Linked DNA regions of Homo sapiens: regions 1, 2, 4, 5, 6 and 7 are each linked to region 3. The links are contacts of gene promoters, found by promoter capture Hi-C in blood cells and fetal thymus (Javierre and others, 2016). All regions are on one chromosome and are shown on one strand. The core of a region is centred on a gene start or on the middle of the fragment in contact, and the rest is flanking DNA. Distances in the headings are between cores, read along the strand shown. Region 1 has its middle 36 kb from the start of LINC02749. Region 2 overlaps LINC02749 (long intergenic non-protein coding RNA 2749). Region 3 holds the start of OR52I1 (olfactory receptor family 52 subfamily I member 1). Region 4 overlaps RRM1 (ribonucleotide reductase catalytic subunit M1). Region 5 overlaps OR51L1 (olfactory receptor family 51 subfamily L member 1). Region 6 has its middle 19 kb from the start of SSU72L5. Region 7 has its middle 9.3 kb from the start of LINC02749.

Region 1 (2,700 bases), core at 141-2,640, 440 kb before region 3:
TAGTGTTCTATACACTGTAGGATGACTACAGTTAACAATACATGGTTTCAAATAGCTAGGATAGTAAATGTTCTCAGGACAAAGAAATGATGTATTTGAGATGATGGATATTCTAATTACTCTTATCTAATCACTCTCCATTGTATGTATCAAAACATCACCATGTACCCCACAAATATGTACAATTATCTGTGTCACTAAAAAAGTTTAAAAATTACATAGAGTTTACATATAATCTATGCACATCCTCCCATATACTTTAAATTGTTTCCAGATTACTTGTAACACCTAGTACAATGTAAATGCTATGTAAATAGTTGTTATACCATTTTTTTTTTTTTTTTGAGACGGAGTCTCACTCTGTCGCCCAGGCTGGAGTGCAGTGGTGCAATCTCGGCTCACTGCAACCTCCGCCTCCTGGGTTCTTGCCATTCTCCTGCCTCAGCCTCCCGAGTAGCTGGGACTACAGGCGCCTGCCAGCACGCCCAGCTAATTTTTTGTATTTTTAGTAGAGACGGGTTTTCACTGTGTTAGCCAGGATGGTCTCCATCTCCTGACCTTGTGATCCGCCCACCTCGGCCTCCCAAAGTGCTGGGATTACAGGCGTGAGCCACCGCACCCAGCTCTTATACTGTATTTTAAATTTTGTATTTTTTTATTGTTGTATTCTTGATTTTTAAATTTCTTTTCGACTATTTTTGATCTGCAGTTGGTTGAACCTACAGATGTCAGACCCATGGATATAGAGGGCTGCATGCATAATACTATTTATTAACCCAGGTTATAGCTGAAGACACTGAGATTTAGAGAGGTTAACTAATGTTCTTAAAGTATCATAGGTATACCTTTAAATGATAGGGCTGGGATATGACTTAGTGACTTAGGTATGTCAATGGTAAAAGGTGGAGTTCAGCTCCAATCTCAGGTTTACCTCTCTCCAAATCCCCCATAAATTTATTGTTGCCTCACCGTGGCAGCCTGCAGTAGTCTCCAGTTGGGTTGCAGCCTGCTGTGTCTTTGGTTTCGCCTCTGAAGAGCTAAGGCTGGAGGTCAGGTCAGTGCCCAACTCCAAGGCACTATGAGGCTGATTTATGAGGGATGGAAAATTAGACCTGTGGCTCCAGGGGAGAAGCCTGAGGAGATTCCCAGAGGGTAGTCATTCCAAAGGGCACTCAAAAGGAGGAAACAAGGAGAAACCCAGAAGAACCCATCTGTCCCTCAGAGAGGACCCCAGGAGAGGGCTGGGTGGAGGTGACAGTATCCAAATTTTTTTTTTTTTTTTTTTTTTTTTGAGACAGAGTCTCACTCTGTTGCCTAGGCTGGAGTGCAGTGGTGCAATCTTGATCTCGGCTCACTGCAACCTCCACCTCTTGGGTTCAAGCAATTCTCCTGCCTCAGCCTCCCGAGTGGCTGGGATTACAGGTGCCTGCCACCATGCCCAGCTAATTTTTGTATTTTTAGTAAAGACAGGGTTTCATCATGTTGGCCAGGCTGGTCTTGAACTCCTGACCTGAAGTGATCCACCTGCCTCAGCCTCCCAAAGTGCTGGGATTACAGGTGTGAGCCACTGTGCCAGGCCCTGTACTAACATTTTTTTCTCTATGGCTCTTGGCATTTTTCACAGAGCAATCACTTCTGCTAAGGGATTTCCCCTCTTTTACAGATGAGCCATTAGAGGCTCAGGAAGAGCAAGTGAGGTTTCAGAACAAGTCCCATCCCAGGGGCATAAACAGGCATAATCTGTATATCACTGACTAGGATGACCTGGGGCTAAGCTGAGGGAAGGGGCTCTTGCAATTTGAAGGTTAAATGGACACTTAGGGGGTACCCAAAGTCAGGAAAGAGCTCTGGGGTGACAATAGGAGAGCCCAGTGGTCAAGACATGGATCTGATTTAGGGTCTGTGTGTGTGTGTGTGTGTATGTGCATGCAAGCTGCGGTTGGTGAGGAATTTACTTCTGGGTGGTTCAGAAATTAGGGCAGAGAGTGCAGTGTGTACTCAGCTGTGAAAAACTGGGAACCACAGAGGCAGGGGCTGGCTCCTCCAGGGAGGCATCCAGTTTGTCCTCTGGAATTTGGAAATAGGACTAAAAAAGCTCCTCTTTTTCTCTTTTTTTATACCTTCTTTGGATCTTCTTTTTGTGATTTCATTTACTCTCCTTTGTTGGTTTATTAGTTGTTCCTCTTTGTTGTCTTATTTCCTCTTGGTTGCTTTAGGGTTTATAGTACATATCTTTAACTTACCACAGTCTATCTACAAGTACTATTAAGTCTTTCACAAATAGTGTGAGATTTTTACAACACAACGTAGCTCTTGTGTCCATTTTGCTTTCTCATTTTTATACAGTTACTCATTCCTTTATTTTTTTCTTCACATCTTTACTGAGCACTTACTTTGTGCTAGGCCATATGCTGGATGCATGGATACAACAATAAGTAACATTTGTGTTCCCTGAGTGAGTCTGCATTCTACTGAGTAGGCTAGTAATGACAATCAATGGTCAAAATACAGCATGTAACAGTATACTCAACAAATGCATCCCAAAATACTATCTGCTTTTAACATCTACCAAGTCCAGGAAGGACCAATGCCAGGTCAGTTGAGGTCATGTCTACTCTTGAGCTATTCTCCATTCCTGTGACTTGGTGAGGTGAAAAGCCATCAGTTATAAACTAGGGAGAGAAAGAAAAGATAGGGAAA
Region 2 (2,700 bases), core at 116-2,615, 400 kb before region 3:
ACTAGCATTGGTGATTTTGATGATCAAAATTATCCCAGATTAGTCCTGTGAGAGCTCCTCCAAGTTGATTCTTGTGTCTTTTTGACACACTGCTATTACTTTTTGAGCACTTCCTTACTTTCTGTTACTACAAGATATTCCAGGCTCATCTTGTACTTTCCCGGCTCAAACTCTGTAATCTGGTATTTTTCTAAGAAACCCTGATTCCTTTTAGCAGAGAATTGTGTATAAAAACAAACCAAGACCTGGAATAGGTCTGTTCATTGCCAGAGTGTTGTTATTTTTAGGCCCTGTCATACATATACACACATGTGTGTGTAGTATATATATTATGTAAATATGCACACACACACATGCAAATCCATTCATCTATCTACCTACCTACTTACCTACCTATCTTTCTTAAAAACCATGAGTTCATACTGATATGACCAGTTCCAATCCAACACTCTAGAGTTCATTTTAACCTTCTCTCTTTCCATATATGTAATTTCCTTCTCCAACCGTGAAAAACCTGGTTTCAGTTACCCACAGTATATTTACTTATTTGCTTAATCCTAGAATACACAGAATGTAGTTTCAGAATTGTTAACTCATGCTGGTGTGGGAAACAAATCTATTAAACAGAGTTCAATATTTGCTACTGTCTTTTTGCCCTAGCCTGAGAATACAGAGGCAAAGTACTGCTTCAAAACTTCTGTTATCACCCCCTACCCGTACTGTGTTTTGTCATTCACTTAACCTACAGTTCGGTACACTTGCTTCCATATGTATTCAATGCTAATGTTTCCTCCTTTTATCCTTGTTGATTGTATTTACTGAAAAACTGAGTACATGAAACATTAACATGGTTGTAAAAGTCAGAACAGATCTGTACAAAAACATGAACTCAGAGAAGTGTCACTGCCCTCCATCTTCTCTACCTTGCTCCCACCATCTTATTCTTTTCACCCATCAGGCTAAAAAAAGACATCAGAGAAAAATATATCCTAATATGTTGAGTTTATTCGGGAGTAAGCAAAAGGATTATAATCTGGGAAGCACAGCTGTAGCAAGCCATAGGTACAGGTACATCAAGCCAAAGGTAAAGGGAAATTTTTACTGGCAAGGAGAAGCTATGTAAGCTGCTTGGAGACAGAGTTCATTGGTTCTGGAGGCTCAAAGCTAGAATTAGCATCAGTTCATTGGTGGAGATGCCACTGCTAGGCATCGGCCTAGCATCTTATCAGAATTGCTACAGTCCTAAAGAATGTATAGTGATAAACCTGGTCATAGAAATATGTGCATGCATGTAAAATGTAAAATGCATGTAAAATGTAGATCATGAAAAGCATGAGATGTATAAAAGATGAAGGAATTTCTCGTGGAGTTATTTTAGAAAGTCCTTGAAATAGTCCTTATCTCAGATGTGCAAGCATGAGCTGTGCTCCTTTGTGTGTTCTGGCTCCAGTTTGCTCGGGTCTGACAAAAGTGACTTATTTTGCTATCTGCAACTTTAGTCACTCCATTTCCACCCACTCCTGTATGGAACCAATCTCATTAGTTTCTGGGTTTCCTTTCCTAAGTTTCTTTTTGTATAGTTGTGCAGACAAATATATATTTTCTTATTCCCCTTTCTTTCTTGCACAAAACGTGGCATACCATAAACACTTTCTCACACTTTGCTTTTTAAATTTAACAGCATATCTTGGGAGCCATTCTATATCAGTTTATAGATGTCATCCTCATTCATTTTTATAGCTGCAGACTATTCCATTCGATGATGTACCATAGTTCATTCAACCATTTTCCTATGTAAAGTCATTTTGGTTGTTTCTAATATTTTTCAATTATAAACAATGCTACAATGAAAATCCTTAAACATATGTATTTTTGTATATATTTGAATATGTATTACCAGGATAAATTATAAAAAGGGGGAAAAGCATGTGCCATTTTGTTTGATATCATCAAATTCTCCCCCATTAAGGTTGTACTAATTTCCATTCCCATCAGAAATGCTTGAGCATCTACTTTCTTCAAGCCTTGCCAACAGAACGTGTTAGTGTATGTTTACATTTTTGCCAATCTGCTAGGTGAGAGATAATATCTCAGTGTTATTTTAATTTGCATTTCTCTTATTATAGTTGAGGCTGAATGTTTTTTCACATGTTTACGGGACATTTTAATTCTTTTTTCAGTCAATGGTCTGTTTATGTCTTTGACTATTTGACCATTTTTATATCAGGTTTTTGAAACTTCTATCGAGTAGAAAAAGTTATTTATATATTAGCGATATTACATATGTATCTGTGTTATATATTACCGATCTTTTCTCTCAGTGTTTAATTTATTTTGGGATTTTTTTTTTTTTTTCTGCGACAGAGTCTTGCTCTGTTGCCCAGGCTAGAGGGTAGTGGTACAGGCTCGGCTCACTGCAACCTCCCCCTCCCAGGTTCAAGCGATTCTCCTGCCTCAGTCTTCTGAGTAGCTGGGATTACAGGTGCCCGCCACCACGCCCGGCTAATTTTTGAATTTTTAGTAGAGACGGGGTTTCACCACGTTGGCCAGGCTGGTCTTAAACTCCTGACTTCAGGTGATCTGCCTACCTTGGCCTCCCAATGTGCTGGGATTACAGGCGTGAGCCACAGCACCCGGCCAGGACTTTTCTTTTTTCTTTTTTTTTTTGAATAAAATAATTTTATTTTTGTATAATAAAAT
Region 3 (2,700 bases), core at 9-2,508:
GTGAATACATCAATAAACAGAGATGAACAAGTGGTAGAGCTCAGCTGCTGGCTGTGCACAGCAGTAGCTATCTTTGTCTCATCAAACGTGGCCAAGTGAAACCCCTAACCTTGTTTTATCCATAGTTGTCTTGTTGACTATTTATGTTGGGCTGGATGGACACCTGGGAGTCATAGCTTAAACCCAAAACTTACCACACACGTACTACATGATCTTGGCTAGAATATTTAATCTAAGTTATACAAACTGTGTTGTATGGAATGGATGTTTGTCTTATATTACAAATGGAGAAATACACTCAGATTATGAATACTACACTTTTAACATAGTACTGGCACATACTGTGTTAATAATAAAGTGCTTAACTTTCTAAAGGATAAAGCTTTCTTGTTTGGAACATCTTGGTTATCAGGAAGAGGGAGTTAGTTGTATTAAAGAACCATAACAACTTATTGGGGAGGGGGGGTCATCTATAAGGTAACCCTAAGATTTTCCTTGTAGTAATTTAATCTATTAACTGAACCAAAGTGAATAGGATCCAGGGTAAATTTAGAGAAGGTAAGGATTATATTTATTTATAGATAATTTATAATCACCTGTAAAATGTGATAATGTTATTCTCTAATGGTTTTATTTTACTGAACTTACTAACGTACTTCATGAATCACAAGAATGCTGAATTTATGTTTTGTCTATGCAATATGCTGAGCATATAAAATGTGATGTTTGTTTTCAAGAAGTTCTGGTTTCAACATTTAGTAACAGCACACAGAGATAAGTCATTCTTTCCTCTGTTAATCGTTCTTTCTGTGGAAATTGTTTACTGTAATGAGTATATATATCTTCACTCAAGTGACTTGTGACCACAGCTATGGATCACAATCTTCCTATAAGGCACTTGAGTGAATACCATAAACTCATACAGTACTGGAATTGTCGATTTAGTCCCTACAGGAGATTTCAGGAAACTGCAAAAGAGGTAATTAACTTAACCTGGGCATGGGGTTGGGTGAGGAAGAGAGCAGAACACAAGTCCCTAAGGAAGGAATTCACGAGCTGATCCTTCAACAATGAATAGAAACTTGTAAGGAGGATGAAAAGTAGCACAGTATTAGAAGTCATTTTTCTGATCCTGCCATACCACCAAGCTGAGAATATCCCTAGGTTTTCCCAGCACCACAAAGAGGAACTAATCTTATAGGACTGCACCATTCTCTTACATCATCTATACATTAATAGGCAAGAAGTCTCACCTGTGATGCTGGGTCCAGCTTACAACCACACAATGGAAACCCCTGCCTCCTTCCTCCTTGTGGGTATCCCAGGACTGCAATCTTCACATCTTTGGCTGGCTATCTCACTGAGTGCCATGTACATCACAGCCCTGTTAGGAAACACCCTCATCGTGACTGCAATCTGGATGGATTCCACTCGGCATGAGCCCATGTATTGCTTTCTGTGTGTTCTGGCTGCTGTGGACATTGTTATGGCCTCCTCCGTGGTACCCAAGATGGTGAGCATCTTCTGCTCGGGAGACAGCTCCATCAGCTTTAGTGCTTGTTTCACTCAGATGTTTTTTGTCCACTTAGCCACAGCTGTGGAGACGGGGCTGCTGCTGACCATGGCTTTTGACCGCTATGTAGCCATCTGCAAGCCTCTACACTACAAGAGAATTCTCACGCCTCAAGTGATGCTGGGAATGAGTATGGCCGTCACCATCAGAGCTGTCACATTCATGACTCCACTGAGTTGGATGATGAATCATCTACCTTTCTGTGGCTCCAATGTGGTTGTCCACTCCTACTGTAAGCACATAGCTTTGGCCAGGTTAGCATGTGCTGACCCCGTGCCCAGCAGTCTCTACAGTCTGATTGGTTCCTCTCTTATGGTGGGCTCTGATGTGGCCTTCATTGCTGCCTCCTATATCTTAATTCTCAGGGCAGTATTTGATCTCTCCTCAAAGACTGCTCAGTTGAAAGCATTAAGCACATGTGGCTCCCATGTGGGGGTTATGGCTTTGTACTATCTACCTGGGATGGCATCCATCTATGCGGCCTGGTTGGGGCAGGATATAGTGCCCTTGCACACCCAAGTGCTGCTAGCTGACCTGTACGTGATCATCCCAGCCACTTTAAATCCCATCATCTATGGCATGAGGACCAAACAATTGCTGGAGGGAATATGGAGTTATCTGATGCACTTCCTCTTTGACCACTCCAACCTGGGTTCATGAACACAATATCTGTTCAGATCCAGAGCATTCTAGCCAACTTCAAAGATGCCTCAGAGATCTGTGGAGCTGGATTGGTTTACCTGGTACTATAAGGAAATCTGAGATGAAGCTATAAAGGATATCTTTGTGTAACTTTTAAATTTCTACCAATAATATGAATGAAATGTTTCTAATTTTCTGACATTTTTAATGGGTTAATATGATAGTGTCTGAATCAGAGTAAGTTTGGTATAGAATACAGCTCTGTAATTTTTCCTTCTATAGCTTCTGACCTATATTTCCTACCTAATATCCTACCATCCCCTCTGCTGAAGAGACCAACTGTTTGGTATCTTCCCCTTAACCTGACTGATATTCTCAGAACTGTTCTTTCCTCCAAGTGATTACATGGAAGAAGCTATTAATATATGACCCTGCCCTCTGGCCCAATAGTGATCTCACTCCATTTGGGTCCTAATGCCCACACC
Region 4 (2,720 bases), core at 139-2,638, 460 kb before region 3:
CTCCTGAGTAGCTGGGATTACAGGCATGCTGCGCCACCATGCCTGGCTAATTATATTGTTTCTTGAATAACAGATGTCAAGATCTTAAAGGAATATAGCTTTCGTGTGGTGGCATTGATGTCTCGTCTTTATAAAAGATAGAATTTACCAAGCAATCTAGCATTAAATAACTCTTAAGTGATTTTAGTTTAAGCTTCAAAGCTGTAGTCTTTTCTAAGCAGTCACTGTTATTTATTTCTTCATACATTTTCTGCTTTTCCATTCAGATTGTAAATCCTCACTTATTGAAAGATCTTACCGAGCGGGGCCTATGGCATGAAGAGATGAAAAACCAGATTATTGCATGCAATGGCTCTATTCAGGTATAGAATGAAAATGAAGTGTGCTCTGCAGGGGCTGAGTTGGACATTGTGGTACCTCCTCACTCATGCTAGACAATGGAGAGAATGACTTCATTGTGTTCATCTAGGTTTTGCTTGTGTAGCTCTGTTCACCTCTGCATTGTTGTGCTAGGATTGTACACATCTTTACATAACCCTTACCATCTTGTTTTTATGCAATAATATAAAAAAGTAGTTCTCAATTTTTCTGCATCTTAGAATCAACTGGGGAGCTTTTAAAATCCTGAAGCTTAGGTTGCATTCCTTACCAATTAAATGTCTAGGAACAGGAACCAGACATCAATTTTTTTTTTTTTTTTTTTTTTTTGAGACGAAGTCTCTGTCGCCCAGGCTGGAGTGCAGTGGTGGAATCATGGCTCACTGCAACCTCTGCCTCCTAGGTTCAAGCGATTCTCCTGCCTCAGCCTCCCAAGTAGCTGGGATTACAGGTGCCTGCCACCACGCCCGGCTGTTTTTTGTATTTTTAGTAGAGACAGGGTTTCACCATATTGGCCAGGCTCCTGACCTCAGGTGATCCGCCTGCCTTGGCCTCCCAGGGTGCTAGGATTACATGCATGAGCCACCGTGCCTGGCCTCAGACATCAATAATTTTTAAAGATTCTTTTGGTGATTCCAAAGTATATCAAAATTTGGGGGATCATAGATAGAAAGACTGAAATTAAGAGAGTCAAGCTTAATTAAAAATCATGGTTGACGACTGATAGTCCAAAAGACAGAGTCACAAATCGTGTAAATATTTGCAACTAAGAGTCAAGAGGCATTTATTTGCAGATAGAGGTGTCTGGCTAAATGTTGGTCTGCTTAGCAACACAGATGAAGAGTCCTATAACAGTTCCATATTTAATGACAGAAACTGTAGCATTAGCCAGTCTGTGTGTTTTAATGAAAGTTAACCCTAGGCCTAAGAAAACCTGATTTTGGATTCCAAAGGGAGTTTGAAATCCTAGCTTATTTAAAGGGTTTTATCTCATTGCTTCCCTTGGTCCCTGTGAATTACAGCCCTTATTTTTTGTGTTTTCTGCAAAACTCAAGGGTCATTTATTGCTGCTTAGCTCTGACTTTTCCTTTCTTTAAGTGCCTCTAGAAGAATGAATGTTTGGGTCATAAATCAATTAAAAAATTAAAAAATTGGTTTATGACCAACAAAAAAGGGATGCTGAAATTACTATCACCAGATTGATATTTGGTTGGTTAGATGGGGGTTTTGTTCAACTTTCTAAATAGTCTTGGTAAACTTGATAAGGATCATATCATATGATACTGAATGGTAAGGTCAGATCTGGCAGGAAGTAAAATGAAGATCAAAGCTTGTGTCACTATTCTATTAATCATACACTGCTTTCTTTAACTGGAGTAAAGTAAACATTGGGTTTTCCTTCTTTAGAGCATACCAGAAATTCCTGATGACCTGAAGCAACTTTATAAAACTGTGTGGGAAATCTCTCAGAAAACTGTTCTCAAGATGGCAGCTGAGAGAGGTGCTTTCATTGATCAAAGCCAATCTTTGAACATCCACATTGCTGAGCCTAACTATGGCAAACTCACTAGTATGCACTTCTACGGCTGGAAGCAGGTTGGTAGAGAATATCAAGGAGTACTTAATTGCCAGCTTGAGATATTTTGGCATTGGAATGATTTTATGTTTTAGCCACCTATTAAATATTATCACCTAGAAGTTCTTTAAGTTCAAATCCAGAACGTTAAAACCAACCCATGGTTTTTGTACCAGAACAGGGTCTTGCCTTGGATTTTCTTGTTTCTGTTAGGTTTATTTCCTTCTTAGGTTTGAAACCTTGTAGTTACCTGTGATGCTTTCCTTCCTTTACTGTCCGTACAATTACCAAGTTGTGTTGATTGTTCCTTTGTATTATTTCTTAAATATCTTCCTTCCTTTTCTGCTGCTGTTATTCTAAACTGACCTTATTGCTTCTAGGATCTCTGCTCCCAGCCATTTTGTGTGCATTACCACCATTCCTCAGATAAAACTTTGCACACGTCAACCCGCTATTCAAAAACATCCATTGTTTTCTCACTTTATAAAGTGAAAGCCAGCTTACTTAGCTAGTCGTTGCCAGCTGTAAAGTCTGGTGATTTTGGATTATGTTCTTATTCCCTGATAATGTATTGGGTATTTAAGTAGAATTATAAATTTGTTTTTTAATTTAACATTTATTGAACATCTAGTATGTGCCAGGACTGAGGATACTGAATAGAAGATGATGATCTTTATCTTTGAAGTCTTATAGTCTGTTGTTACACAGAGACACAGTCTAGCTCTCTAAACAGTTATAACCTAAGGCAGACATATTGTCTTGGGCA
Region 5 (2,700 bases), core at 161-2,660, 400 kb after region 3:
ATAGAGTCAAAAGAAAATGAATAGAGAAAAGACAATAAATGGATTTTAAAAAGTGAAAGACATGACAGATATGGCAGTGAGAGGATAAGAAAGGGAAAGTACACACAGAAATAGAAACGGGAAAGGGGCTTAGGGGGCCCGGGTAGTGGAGGAAATGCGGAAAAGTAGCTCAAAGCATACAAACTTGCAGTTATGTAGGAAGAATAAGTCTAGAGATCTAATATACAGCATGACCACAGTTCATAATATTGTAGAATGGGAACTCTTTTCAGGTGAGGGATAAATCAATGAGATAAAGCAGTGAGTTAATAATATTGTAGAAATGGGGACTCTTTTTAAGTGAGGGATAAACCAATATGAGCAAGAATTAAAACCACAGAAATTGTATACCGAAAATTTGCCAAGAGAGTAGAGCTTAGGTGTTCTTAGCATACACATGCACGTGTGTGCATGCACACACACACACACAGGCACATAGTAATGACCATTTCACTATGTATATGTCTATGTATATGCATATATATATATAAACATCATTCTGTATACCTTAAATATACACAGTTAAAAATTAATAGGGATTACAAACAGAAATATTCCTGCCTGTCCTAACCTCAAATCTATTGGCCAGTCTACAACTGAAGTTTTCTAAACATCGCAATCTGCACATAGGGGACTTGCACATAAAGCAGGGAGAAAGAGAATTCTAAAGAGTAGTGATCCACTTTGTTCTTTGCATTCTATGTGAGAATTTAAGAAAATATGATTTATTTCAGGACTGAAAGAATTAAAGGAGAAAACATGGAATATTTTTCTGGCATGGGGTAAAATAAACTACTTCTCCACTGTGGCCACAGTTTTCTTTTCTTTTTCTTTTTTTCTCTTTCTTTCTTTTTCTTTCTTTTCCTTCCTTCCTTTCTTTTCTTTTCTTTCTTTCTTTCTTTCTTTCTTTCTTTCTTTCTTTCTTTCTTTCATTTCTCTCTCTCTGTTTCTTTCTTTCTCTCCTCCCTCTCTCTCACTCTGTGTGTGTGTGTGTTCTTTTTATTTCGATGTTAATACCTATATCATTTTTATGAGCTCAACTGTACAACAGGAGGTCAAAAAATTTTTCTGAGTGAGGAGAAAGAAAAAATAAAGTCAGCTAGTGATATGGAAGACTGGAGAGAAAAATGTTGCTTAGGGGTGAAGAAAAATAAATGCTCTAAACACATACTCTGCTGGGTGTGAAGAATTTGATGGGTAGCTGACTGCTTTATTTAAGACGAGGGTCTCAAATGAAAGCTTCATTCACATTGCCTAGGCTAGAGAAGAGTACCAGGTTAGGTTCTGACTCATAGAAGATGGAGGATTCCTGTACTTGGGTAAAAGTAGAAAAAGAGACAAATCCTTCTCATTACATGGAGAAGAGGGCTTTGTGCTTTCTTTTGTTCCTCAGATACAGATTCTAAATCAAGTCCTCTTTGGAATTCTAAGTTGTGCCATCTAAGAACTTTCAGTCTTCACGGTATGAAAGTGAGATAAGAATCAGTCAAGGGATTTTTAAAATAAAGCTTTTTATTAAATATAATGGAGATAATAAAAAGAAACAGCTAGCTAGCTGGAGCCTTGTGATACGAGTTTGAGACCACATTTGGAAATATTTTTACTCTAGGATGAGGCTAAGTCTTATCTTAATCTTTCAAAAGGTCAGAGACTAAGGGTCCAGAAGGAGGGTTGAGGGAATTACTGAGATGTTGCTACAGAGAGATGTTGCTGAAGTCTATGAGGCCCAGACTCTAAGGGACAAGGTAAGTAAATAATTTTCTCAGGGGCAGTTAATGGAACTAGACAGGGTTAAAATAAAGACCTAGGTAACAGAAGGGGCAGATAATCTCATAATGCTCAGCTGCTGTACCAAGTGCCATCAACACAGTATGATACAGCAAGGGCAACACTGGTTCAGCACAGGCAAGGAGGCTATTACAATAACAATTGCTGAGGGAAAGTAAAGCCAGATGTTAATATCATATTTTGAAACACTCAGAAGAGCTTGGTTGTTTCTAAGAGGCACTGATAGTGAATATTTAAGGCCTAAATTCTGGATTGTCATGAGTTCACAGAAGTAGGTGCAAGTGGGTCAGAAAATTAAGAACCACTTAATATTTTGATTGATGATCTTTTAAAAATGATATTAAAAGCATCGTTTGGAAACAGAAATCAATCAATCAAAAAAATCAATAGAAATAAAGTGGAAAAGTACCTCTTTTACTGAAAACATGTAATAGATAACTGTTAAATGCATTGTTCTCATTTTGTGGAAGAGCAGAAAGGGAAATGTCTTTAATGGACTTTCGTAGTTATATTGTGATGTTATGGCCTAAAGATTTATTTTCAAACTATTTAAACTCTTATTTCACAAACACACACACACACACACACACACACACACACACACACACACGCATATACACTCACACACTATATATATAGTTTTTTTACCGTGAATTTTTTTTTAGGTCAGGAATAGTTGCTATACTAAACAGCTCAAAACTGTGTTGGTTAAATAGCAGCTCAATAAAGCATGCTGGGATTATGGATTCTGGTATTATGGATTCTGTTTCTTATGTTCATGCTCTCTTTTCATATAGGGGTATTTATCTTGTATTATTAAAATATTAAATATTTAAAATGTTTAAATATTATAAATCTTTAAATAAAAATGCA
Region 6 (2,700 bases), core at 35-2,534, 380 kb before region 3:
TTTAAAAATAGAGTTGGGGGTCTCACTGTTGCCCAGCCTAATCAAGAACTCCTGGGCTCAAGTGATCTTGCCTCGGCCTTCCAACGTGCTAGGATTATAGGAGTGAGCCACCATGCCTGACGTCAACTTTTAAATGTGCATATAAATAATTACCAAGAAGTAATTTTAAATTGAAATGTGTAATAATATTTCAGCAAGTTATGTTAACAACATGTATGAGAACCTCACATCCACTATAATTCTAAATTTATTTTATTAGATTATAAGAACTAGTTAGAAACTTATTAAAACATTTTTAAAATGAAAATCAATCTCTATATTTAAGGAAATCAAAACTGTAATTATTTATAAACACTTTGAATTTTTTATGAAGACTTATTAACTAGGTTGTAATGGCTACTTAAAAATGACCGGTAACATTTTTTAGAAAGTTTTAAAAACTGAACTTAAAATATAAGAAATAATAAGATTTTTAAGTATATTTTATTTCTGAGTCAACTGTTGACTTTAAAAAGGGCCGACAACCGTGCAGTGCAGCTTTCTGTAAGAACCTCAATGAACACACATGAGAAAATGTAGCTTAAAAAAAGGTTCACTTTTTAAAGGACATTACTGATGTCCTAAAATATACTAGGTATATATTGTTGCTTGGGTGTTTGAAGTTGTTTGGATGAAATAAACTTGGGTTCAGTCACAGAATACAAGATTGTCTACTGATTTCAGATGATAATGTGTCTGGAGAAGATGAGCCTTCTCAAAGGCAATTGCAGAAAGACAAGATAATTTTGAGGGCAACATTTTTTTTTTCTAGGATGGACGAAAACGGAAAAAAAGTAGTAACAATGAAAAAGATGTTTATAACATTTAAAAAACCCTCAAAACTGACTATAAAGGAAAACCATTTTAACAAAAGCTAAAACTACATGCATTTCAAACTTATGCAGTGTATTTAAGTCACACTGGCCCCTTAGATGTCCCTACAAGCGCTGCAGACGTCGGGGAGGCCTGTGGAGTGACCGGTCCTCACCTCCTCCGGCTCTCAGTGCCCCATCTGCCAGCTGTCACAGTGCTGGTACACTCTAACAAGACCTCCCTGGGGCTCAGGGATAAACAGAGAGAAACACAGTAATACTATGATACTAGAAATACTGGCTTTTAAAGTATGGTACTGTTTATTATCTTACGACAGGAAGTCCTGTCGTATCTGAGATATGGCTCTGAAAGAATTCTTGGTCTAGGTATTTCCCATCTCTAGAGGGCGGTGATATATTTGAAGCAATCACTTAATTACAAGAGCTCTCTCCTCCTGTACCCTGCCACATTTATTGTCAATAACTCAGAATTTCCTAAGTGATAAGGGATGGCTCTCTGTGTCTTCTGACCCCTCAGAGAGCTCACAGTGGTGTCTTTGGATGCCTGCATCCTGTCCTGCCTCCTCCCCGCCTTACCGTGGGGCTCACACAGTCAATGGCCATAGAAGAGCCACTGCAGTCCCACCTGGATTCATAGCACCAGGAAAGGAGCAGGCCTCTTTCAGCCAGCCAAAGAAACACTTACCCCTTATTAGGGAAGCTGCACAACAGACTAAAACCGGATCCAGGAAACAGTGGACAGGGGACTCAGGTGGGTGTGGAGTGTGCGCCTCACTCCCCAGGAAAGCAGCGCTAGGGCCCTTTCCCTCAGAACTCTGTGGCGTGCATTGCTTCTGGCCAAGGAGGGGAAAGTTCTTTCTGGCTCTCCTCAAAGTCTTATTACAGACCTTCCTGGAATTGCTTATACATCTTCTTGGCCCCTTTCAGCTTCACTCTGGTGATACCAGTAGGTCACTGACCCAGAACATGGCCCCTGAACTCTGGTCTTGAGGTGGTGGTGGTGGCGATGGGCTTTTTGGGGTCAACTGACTTTTACTTCCTTCCAGGCAAGGTCACTGAACATGTGAAAATATGCTGGCTTTCCACCTAGTGAGGAGCTACATTATCTCTGAGTGAGAGCAGGACATTTCACCTTTGAAATGGCAAGTGGAAAGAACAGGTGGAGGTAATCAAGGACACACACACACACACACACACACACACACACACACACACACACAGGCTAATGAGGAACAGGAGGAAAAGGGATGGTGGGCAAACAGTGGAGGGAAGTGAAGGGGTGGGTGATGAGGAGGTGAAAGGAAAAAAAGGATCTAAAGGGAAAACTAGAACTGAAAGAAGGCAGGATGCAAAGGGAGAACAGCAGAGGGTGGTTGCCGCAAACACAAATCCTTCCCACACTTACCACACACACAGGCCTTTCTCTGCATTTGCTTCCCCAAGCTCTTCATGGTCATCTTCTTCCTGTGGCTGAGGGCCTTGTCCCAGGTCTTCATCACCTCGCCCCAGGGTATCTGGGAGGACCTCTCCATGGATGGGTCCTTCAGGAGGAACCTGAGTTTCTTCTCTATGTCAGCTCCTCCAGATTCTGTAGCAGTGGCTCACACAGGTGCTTTGGCCATGCCTTTCCAAGGTTGGCCATAGGCACTAGAGTCTAGAGGGAACAGAAGAAACAGCAGAATGATTTAGTAGAGAAGTCACCCTCTCTCTAGTCAGAGAAAGGGCTTCTGGAATCAGCTGTGTGACTTCCTTCTCTCCATGCCCTCTGCCATTTTCCTGACCCCACCTGGGTTACCAAACAGGCTCCTGACTGGTCTCCCCAATCCCC
Region 7 (2,700 bases), core at 186-2,685, 420 kb before region 3:
CATAAAATCTTTGCCTACACCAAAGTCCTAAAGTGTTTCCCTGTGCTTTATGCTTTCTTCTATTGGTTTTATAATTTTGGGTGTTACGTTTAAGTCTTTAATCCATCCTGAGTTGATTTTTTGTATAGTGAGAAATAGGGTCTAGTTTCATTCTTTCACATATGGATATCCAACTTTCCCAGCACTGTTTATTCAAGAGACTGTCCTTCAATGTATATTCTTGGCACTTTTGTTGGAAATCATTGGCTGTAAACACATGCATGTATTTCTGGATTCTCTATTCTGTTTTATTGTTCTATGTGTCTGTTTTTATTCCAATAGCATGCTGCTTTGGTTAATATAGCTTTGTGATATATTCTGAAGTCAGCTAGTGTGAAACTTTCGGCTTTGTTGTTTTTGCTCAGGATTGCTTTGGCTATTTAGGCTCCTTTTTGGTTCCAGAATAGTTTTAGTGTTGTTTTTTCTATTTCTGTCAAAACTGACATTGGTATTTTGATAGTGATTGCCTTGAATCTGTGGTTTTTTTGGGCAGTGTGGTCATCTTTTTTTTTTTTTTTTTTTTTTTTTTTTAGATGGAGTCTCACTCCCGTTGCTCAGGCTGGAGTGCAGTGGCACAATCTTGGCTCACTGCAACCTCCACCTCTCAGGTTCAAGCGATTCTCCTTCCTCAGCCTCCTGAGTAGCTGGGATTACAGGTGTGTGCCACCATGCCTGGCTAACTTTGTATTTTTAATAGAGATGGGGTTTCACCATGTTGGCCAGGCTGGTCTTGAACTCCTGACCTCAGGTGATCCACCTGCCTCGGCTTCCCAAAGTGTTAGGATTACAGGTGTGAGCCACCGTGCCCGGCCAGTATAGTCATCTTAAGGACATCAATTATTTTGATTTAAGAACATAGGCTCTCTTTCCATTTGTTTGTGTCCTCTTTAATTTATTTCATCAGTGTTTTGTAGTTTTCCTTGTTTTTTGCCTCACGATTAAATTTATTCCTAGGTATTTTATTTTATTTTTAAAAGCTTGTTTTCTTTTTTAATTGGCATATAATAATAGTACATATTTATGGAATCCCAAGTTATGTTTTGATACATACAGTGTAGACTTTTTCTTCCACTAATTTTGGTTTTGGTTTTCTCTTGCTTTTCTCATTCCTTGAGGTGCATTGTTAGATTATTTGAATTCTTTCCACTTTTTTGATGTAGGCATTTATTGCTATAAACTACCATTTAGCACTGCTTTTGCTGTATCCCATAGATTTTGGTATGTTGTGTTTTGATTTTCATTTGTTTCAAGAAATTTTTTGATTTCCTTTTAAATTTCTTTTTTGATCCAATGGCCATTCAGGGACATGTTGTTTAATTTCCATATATTTGTGCAGTTTCCAACATTCCTCTTGTTATTAACTTCTGGTTTTATTTTATTGTGGTCTGAGAAGGTACTTCATATGATTTTGATATTTAAAAATTTGTGGAGACTTGTTTTGTGTGCTAACATATGGTTTATCCTGGAGCATGTTCCATATGCTGATGAGAAGAATGTGTGTTTTGTAGCTGTTGGATGAAATGTCCTGTAAATTTTTGTTAGGTATATTTGGTATAATGTGCAGTTTTAATTCAATGTTTCTTTGTTAATTTTCTGTCTAGATCAGGGGTGTCCAATTTCTTGGCTTCCCTAAGGCACATTGGAAAAAGAATTGTCTTGAGCCACACATAAAATACAGTAACACTAACGAATAGCTGATGAGCTTAAAATAAATTGCAAAAGCTCTCATTATGTTTTAAGAAAGTTTATGAATTTGTGTTGAGCTGCATTCAAAGCCATCCTGGGCTGCATGTGGCCTGCAGGCCATAGGTTGAACAAGCTTGGTCTAGATAATCTGTTTAATGCTGAGAGTGGGGTGTTGAAGTTCACAACTCTTATTGTACTGGAGTCTACTTCTTTCTTTACATCTAATAATATTTGCTTTATATATCTGGGTGCTCTGATGTTGGGTGCATATATGTTTAGAATTGTTATATTCTTTTGCCAAATTGATCCCTTTATCATTATATAATGATTGTCTTTATCTCTTTTTATTGTTTTTGACTTAAAGTCTGTCTTATCTCTTATATGTACAGCTATTCCTGCTTGCCTTTGGTTTTCATTTGCATGGACTTTTTTCATCCCTTTAGTTTAAATCTATATGTGTCTTTATACATAAGGTGAGTTTCTTTTAGGAAGCATATAGTTGGGTCATGTTTTTTAATTCATTTAGCCAGTCTTTGTCTTTTATTTGGAAAGTTTAATCTGTTTGTATTCAAGGTTATTATTGATACATGATTTTATTAAATAATTTCTGGTGGCTGCATTGGGCTTGGGAGGCCAGTCCCTAGGCACATAGTGCGTACGTATGTGTGGGTGTCAGCTGTGGTGGTAGAGGCAGGTTGGGTGGGCCTGATCTCAGGCCCTGGGAAAGTGTTTGGGTGCCAAAGGTGATGAACTGGGTTGGGTGATTCCCATACCCAAAGATGACATGCTTAGGCACTGGGAAGGAGGAGTGGAGCCAGGCCTGGCTCCTTAGGCCCCTTAGTAGTGTGTGTAGGCACTGGCTGTGTTAGGCAGAGGCAGGTGATCCCTAGGCTCCTGGTGGTATGTTGGGGTGGAGGTGTCACTGCCACCCTGCTACTGGGGAGCACAGGGTTGCTTTCAGTGGCAGCAGCAGTA

The links. Contacts are between HindIII fragments. The CHiCAGO score rates a contact against its expected background, and 5 or more counts as called.
Region 1: a fragment that was not itself captured here is called in contact with the fragment with the promoter of OR52I1 in region 3 in 2 of 17 cell types (M0 macrophages and M1 macrophages); the score reaches 5.4 in M0 macrophages.
Region 2: a contact is called between a fragment that was not itself captured here and the fragment with the promoter of OR52I1 in region 3, in 6 of 17 cell types (M1 macrophages, M2 macrophages, M0 macrophages and 3 more). The highest score is 7.7, in M1 macrophages.
Region 4: a fragment that was not itself captured here is called in contact with the fragment with the promoter of OR52I1 in region 3 in 2 of 17 cell types (M1 macrophages and M2 macrophages); the score reaches 8.9 in M1 macrophages.
Region 5: a fragment that was not itself captured here is called in contact with the fragment with the promoter of OR52I1 in region 3 in 2 of 17 cell types (megakaryocytes and erythroblasts); the score reaches 6.5 in megakaryocytes.
Region 6: a contact is called between a fragment that was not itself captured here and the fragment with the promoter of OR52I1 in region 3, in 10 of 17 cell types (M1 macrophages, M0 macrophages, monocytes and 7 more). The highest score is 8.4, in M1 macrophages.
Region 7: a contact is called between a fragment that was not itself captured here and the fragment with the promoter of OR52I1 in region 3, in 14 of 17 cell types (M1 macrophages, M2 macrophages, megakaryocytes and 11 more). The highest score is 15.1, in M1 macrophages.

The regions. Positions count from the first base shown.
Region 1 is chr11:4,150,086-4,152,785 of GRCh38, forward strand. No RefSeq gene overlaps it. Among named protein-coding and RNA genes, the nearest start is that of LINC02749, 36 kb to the right of the region's middle. The HindIII fragment of the contact is 5,252 bases long and covers 1-2,700 here.
Region 2 is chr11:4,195,566-4,198,265 of GRCh38, forward strand. All of the region lies in intron 1 of LINC02749 (long intergenic non-protein coding RNA 2749), which reads left to right. Among named protein-coding and RNA genes, the nearest start is that of LINC02749, 9.8 kb to the left of the region's middle. The HindIII fragment of the contact is 3,403 bases long and covers 1-2,700 here.
Region 3 is chr11:4,592,781-4,595,480 of GRCh38, forward strand. It overlaps OR52I1 (olfactory receptor family 52 subfamily I member 1), which reads left to right and starts at 1,259. Exons shown (of 1, transcript NM_001005169.1): 1 at 1,259-2,233. The coding sequence starts at 1,259. The coding sequence ends at 2,233. It overlaps OR52I2 (olfactory receptor family 52 subfamily I member 2), which reads left to right. Exons shown (of 2, transcript NM_001405760.1): 2 at 1-560. The HindIII fragment of the contact is 4,139 bases long and covers 381-2,700 here.
Region 4 is chr11:4,133,297-4,136,016 of GRCh38, forward strand. RRM1 (ribonucleotide reductase catalytic subunit M1) reads left to right here. Exons shown (of 19, transcript NM_001033.5): 17 at 267-362; 18 at 1,786-1,974. Among named protein-coding and RNA genes, the nearest start is that of RRM1, 40 kb to the left of the region's middle. The HindIII fragment of the contact is 635 bases long and covers 1,072-1,706 here.
Region 5 is chr11:4,995,800-4,998,499 of GRCh38, forward strand. OR51L1 (olfactory receptor family 51 subfamily L member 1) reads left to right here. Exons shown (of 3, transcript NM_001004755.2): 2 at 1,683-1,784. Among named protein-coding and RNA genes, the nearest start is that of OR51L1, 2.3 kb to the left of the region's middle. The HindIII fragment of the contact is 269 bases long and covers 1,277-1,545 here.
Region 6 is chr11:4,212,739-4,215,438 of GRCh38, forward strand. No RefSeq gene overlaps it. Among named protein-coding and RNA genes, the nearest start is that of SSU72L5, 19 kb to the right of the region's middle. The HindIII fragment of the contact is 2,918 bases long and covers 1-2,700 here.
Region 7 is chr11:4,176,517-4,179,216 of GRCh38, forward strand. No RefSeq gene overlaps it. Among named protein-coding and RNA genes, the nearest start is that of LINC02749, 9.3 kb to the right of the region's middle. RefSeq lists an enhancer at 2,224-2,700. The HindIII fragment of the contact is 842 bases long and covers 1,015-1,856 here.